Regions from separate parts of the Homo sapiens genome. Here region 2 is linked to region 1. Evidence: promoter capture Hi-C in 16 types of primary human blood cells and fetal thymus (Javierre and others, 2016). All regions are on one chromosome and are shown on one strand. Each heading gives the region's core, a stretch centred on a gene start or on the middle of the fragment in contact. The rest is flanking DNA. Distances are from core to core; before and after follow the strand shown. Region 1 holds the start of ATP5IF1 (ATP synthase inhibitory factor subunit 1). Region 2 has its middle 12 kb from the start of MED18.

Region 1 (2,700 bases), core at 79-2,578:
TGCCACCACGCCTAGCTAATTTATTTTTTATTTTTATTTATTTATTTTTGAGACAGTTTCTCTCTTGTTGACCAGGCTGGAGTGCAATGGCGTGATCTCAGCTCACTGCACCCCCTGCCTCTCAGGTTCAAGCGATTCTCCTGCCTCAGCCTCCCGAGTAGCTGGGATTACAGATATGCGCCACCATGCCCAGCTAATTTTTCATATTTTTTTTTTAGTAGAGATGGGGTTTCTCCATGTTGGTCAAGCTGGTCTCGAATTCCCAACCTCAGGTGATCTGCCCGCCTCGGCCTCCCAAAGTGCTGGGATTACAGGTGTGAGCCACCGCGCCTGGCCTGCTCTTTTCTACTGCATTGCACCACATTGCCAAAAGTGCAGTTATTAAGCCCATTCAACAATATGTTGCTAACGAAAAAAACAAACTAAAATATTTTTAAAAGGTTTATTCTGAGCCAAGATGAGTGACCATAGCTTGGGGAAACACAGCCTCAAGAGGTCCTAGGAAACTGTGCCTGAGGTGGTCAAGTTATAATTTGGGTTTTCTTTTTTTTTTTTTTGTTTTGAGACGGAGTCTCGCTTTGTCACCAGGCTGGAGTGCAGTTGCGCAATCTCGGCTCACTGCAACCTCCGCCTCCCGGGTTCAAGCCAATTCTCCTGTCTCAGCCTCCTGAGTAGCTGCGATTACAGTCGCGTGCCACCGCACCCGGCTGATTTTTGTATTTTTAGTAGAGACGGGGTTTCCCCATGTTGGCCAGGCTGGTCTCGAACTCCGGACCTCAGGTGATCCACCCACTTCGGCCTCCCAAAGTGTTGGGATTACAGGCGTGAGCCACCGCGCCCAGCCAGAACACTGACACTTCTCATAACAAATGAACGCGATTTATGTATATCTAAGCCAGGGCACATTGGACGTCGGTATCCTGGACATCAGCATCCTGGACACAGCTCCCAAACCCCGAATTCCCCCATTTTATTGATGCTAGCAGGCCAGGGAAGGGAAAACTTCCTTTGGGCTTTGAATAATAACGACTTTAGAATTGAAATCGTGGGCTGGAGGTGGACGCCACGCCTCATTCTGATGGGTCCAAGAGCCGAAATTTCGGCTTCTGGCACTCTCCTCACTCAGCTCTCTAAACTCCTCCATCATTCCTCTTTCCAGTCCTTTGGCCCTAAGCCCTTGCTAGCGGTTGGCTAAGAAGAAACCCGTCTCTTGCTCGGGATTCGCTGTGAGCTCCGGGAAGCCCGCCTCCGCTCTCCCGTGATTCGCTACTCCTGTGTTCATCCGCCCCTCCGTCGACCAGATTGGGTGCTTGGCCGTCCCTGCCATTAGCGCGTAACGAGAGACTGCTTGCTGCGGCAGAGACGCCAGAGGTGCAGCTCCAGCAGCAATGGCAGTGACGGCGTTGGCGGCGCGGACGTGGCTTGGCGTGTGGGGCGTGAGGACCATGCAAGCCCGAGGCTTCGGCTCGGATCAGGTACGCTGCGGCAGTGTCCGCTGCTCCAGCCCCGCGGGCGGATCCCATCTTTGCTTCCGTACCTTTACCAGTGTCCCTGTCTCTCTGCAGTCCGAGAATGTCGACCGGGGCGCGGGCTCCATCCGGGAAGCCGGTGGGGCCTTCGGAAAGAGAGAGCAGGCTGAAGAGGAACGATATTTCCGGTGAGGCTCACCGGGTCCCAAGTCCAGCCCTGGATCTCCCAATGGCCTTCCAATCCTTAAACTGCCAATCGCCCCACCCGTTCCTACCTGGTGCCTTGGGCGCCCCATCCCCCAACAGAACTCCCGGGCCCCAATCCAGTATACCCTAACCCTTGATGTCCCGACCGTTGCCACGTATAGGGCACTCCCAGTTACCTGCACAACAGTTTCAGGCCCCCAAACCGTTTCCACCGGCGGGTCTCCAAAACAACCCACGGCTCAACTCCTCCTTTATCATTACCATCTCCCGCGTGGAGTTCTCCTCAGGTCGTGCGAAACACCCCCAGATTCTTCGCACAGTGTCTAGATCCGACCGCCCAACGTTTGCCTCCCAGCCTGACTCCCTCGGCCCTTACCCACCTGTCACCCCCTCTACGCTCTCCTTCCTCGCCAGCACGCCTTAGCTTTGCAAGCCTGCATGCATTCAGGCTTCTCAGGTGTTTCTAGACCCCCGACTCCGCAAGAGTGAGGATGATGGGAGCTGGTCATGGGAGCTACTTATGGTTGGACACCATCTTCTAAAGGCTTTTGCCCTACTCAGCCCAACCTAGACCTGTAGATTTCCCTCTCCTGCTTAGGAGTATGGAGTGGGCTGGGCCTCCCTTTGCCAGCCTTGAGTTATCTTTAACTGACTTCTGTCCACTCTGGAGAGCAGTGAGGAATTAATCTTGCTTTTGCTTGTCCTTTGGCCTTTCACTTCTGCCTTCTGTTGAGAATTATCACCATGACACCTGCCATACCGTATAGAGAGCCAAGGTACAGCCGTTAGAGACTATCTAATTGAGCCCCTACATTTTGTAGTTAAGGAAAACTGAGGCCTAAATGTGACCAAACCAACATTGTAATCCAGTCCCTTCTTGGAACCTAAATTGAACTGCCAAGTACTGCGCATGCAAGAGACCCTTTATTGGCCTTACAGTGGGCCATTCATTTCTATAGGCAAAGAAAGCTCTAGACAGATTGGAATAGGAAATGGATATTTGCCTTTTAGCTACACCCCTTTG
Region 2 (2,700 bases), core at 89-2,588, 100 kb after region 1:
AGACCCTGTATCTATTAAAAACAACAACAACAATAGAAAACAAACCTGGCTGGGCACAGTGGCTCATGTCTGTAATCCCAGCACTTTGGGAGGCCGAGGCAGGCAGATTACCTGTCAGGAGTTTGAGACCAGCCTGGCCAACATGGTGAAACCCCATCTCCACTAAAAATATAAAAATTAGCTGGGCATGGTGGCACACGCCTGTAATCCCAGCTCTTTAGGAGACTGAGGCAGGAGAATTGCTTGAGCCCAGGAGACAGGTTGCAGTGAGCTGAGATTGTGCCACTGCAATCCAGCCTGGCCGATAAAGCGAGACTCTGTCTCAAAAAAAACAAAAACAAAAACAAAAACACCTGAGATTGCCTGCAACTCTTCACTACCATAAAAAATGCTAAAATAAGCAAATTCGTAGATTGTTATAAAAATTCCCCTGGATGACTGGGCGCGGTGGCTCATGCCTGTAATCCCAGCACTTCAGGCGGCCGAGGTGGGTGGATCAACTGAGGTCAGAAGTTCAAGACCAGCCTGGCCACCATGGTGAAACCCTATATCTACTAAAGATGCAAAAAATTGCCGGGCATGTGGCATGCCCCTGTAATCCAAGCTACTCGAGAGGCTGAGGTGGGAGAATTGCTTGAATCTGGGAGGTGGAGGCGGAGGCTGCAGTGAGCTGAGATTGCGCCACTGCACTCCAACCTGGGCAACAGAAAGAGACCTCATCTCAAAAAAAAAAAAAAGACTGGGCTCAGTGGCTCACTCCTGTAATCCCAGCACTTTGGGAGGCCGAGGTGGGCAGATTACCTGAGGTCGGGAGTTCGAGATCAGCCTGACTAACATGGAGAAACCCCGTTTCTGCTAAAAATGCAGTTAGCCAGATGTGGTGGCGCATGCCTGTAATCCCAGCTACTCAGGAGGCTGAAGCAGGAGAATCGCTTGAACCCTGGAGGCAGAGGCTGCGGTGAGCCGAGATCACTCCATTGCACTCCAGCCTGGGTAACAAGAGCAAAACTCTGTCTCAAAAAAAAAAAAGAAAAAAAAATCCCCTGGGCTGTATAGCTATGAGCATGCTCACATTTGCCAACTATTGCAGGTTACTTTTCAGAATGTCTGTAACATTTACTTTCCTATTGCTAGTGAACAAGAACTCATAGCCACATCCTCACCAGTTGGTGTGATGTGGCATGACCCGTCTTTCTAGTTTTTTCCAGTTTGATGGATGTAAAATGGCAGCTCTTGGTTGTTTTGATTTGCTTGTCTCTGGTTATAATTACATTTGAATCTTTTCATTTCTTTCTTTGTATGTAACAGTATATAGACTTTTTTAGTATGTGAAACTAAGGTATCTATATTCTTTGCCCATTTTTTATATTTTATTTTCAATGGTATTGATCTGCAGAACCTTTGTATATTCTAGATATTAATCCTTTGCTTAAAACATTGCAAATATCTTCTCTCAGTCTGTCACCTTTCTGTTAACTTTATCTGTGATGTCATTAATTAAGCAGAGATCCTAAATTTTGACTATATTATGGTTTGGAATCTTGTTCCTTAGTTTTTCTTTTTGAGACAGAGTCTTACTCTTTTGCCCAGGCTGGAGTGAAGTGGTAGGATCTCAGCTCACTGCAACCTCTGCCTCCCGGGTTCAAGCAATTCTCATGCCTCAGCCTCCTGAGTAGCTGGGACTATACGTGCATGCCACCACGCCCAGTTAAATTTTTTTACTTTTAGTAGAGACAGGGTTTTACTATGTTGATCAGGCTGGTCTCGAACTCCTGAGCTCAGGCAATCCTCCCGCCTCAGTCTCCCAAAGTGCTAGGATTAGAGGCATGAGCCACAGCGCCCGGCATAGAATTTTGTGTAGGAAGTCTTCATTTACCCTTAGGGAACAGATTTTCCTTCTTAGCTTTATAGTTTTAACTTTCACATTTAGGTCTTTAATCCATCTGGAGTCTATCTTCTAGGTGGTTTCAAGTAAAAATCCAGCTTTCTTCTCCTTGCAGTGAATTAGTTTTTCTACCACCATCTGAAAAACAATTTTCAGTGCTTTCTGATGCTACCGTTGTTACATATTAGGTTTCCTCGTATATACTTTATTTTTAAGCTCTCCATTCTATTTCATTTTTTATTTCTTTGTTTCAGTGCCCGCAACACAATGTTTTTATTGTTATGGCTTTATAGTAGAGCCATTTCTACCAATAGGGCAGGTACCCTTACCTTTTTGTCCTCTAAAATAGACTTATAGTGTAGTAATATTTCAAAAAATAATAATAAAGAAAAGAAAATAGATCTAGCATCCAGGCATGATGGCTCATGCTTATAATCCTAGTACTTTGGGAGGCCGGGGCAAGAGGATCACTTGAGGCCAGGAATTCAAGACCAGCCTGGGCAACATAGCAAGAACTTATCTCTCCAAAAAAATTTTTTTTGAATTAGCCAGGTGTGATGGCATGCACCTGTGGTTCCAGCTATGTGGGAGGCTGAGGTAGGAGGATCTCTGGAGCTTGGGCGGTTGAGGTTGCAGTGAGCTGTGATGAGATCACTACATTCCAGCCTGGGTGACACATTGAGACCCTGTCTCAACAACAACACAAATATAGACTGGGTTTTCATAGGCCTTTATTCTTTCATATTCATTTTAGAGTAAGTTGTAGATTCTCAACATTACTACTGGAATTTTATTGGAATTTCATTGAATATGTA

Evidence for each region. The method cuts DNA at HindIII sites, captures the fragments that hold promoters and counts their contacts. A CHiCAGO score of 5 or more calls a contact.
Region 2: a fragment that was not itself captured here is called in contact with the fragment with the promoter of ATP5IF1 in region 1 in 1 of 17 cell types (M1 macrophages); the score reaches 5.2 in M1 macrophages.

Annotation. Positions count from the first base shown.
Region 1 is chr1:28,234,796-28,237,495 of GRCh38, forward strand. It overlaps ATP5IF1 (ATP synthase inhibitory factor subunit 1), which reads left to right and starts at 1,329. Exons shown (of 3, transcript NM_016311.5): 1 at 1,329-1,475; 2 at 1,566-1,657. The coding sequence starts at 1,389. RefSeq lists enhancers at 228-734, 1,528-1,587 and a silencer at 567-791. The HindIII fragment of the contact is 3,687 bases long and covers 1-2,700 here.
Region 2 is chr1:28,339,287-28,341,986 of GRCh38, forward strand. No RefSeq gene overlaps it. Among named protein-coding and RNA genes, the nearest start is that of MED18, 12 kb to the left of the region's middle. The HindIII fragment of the contact is 2,939 bases long and covers 1-2,700 here.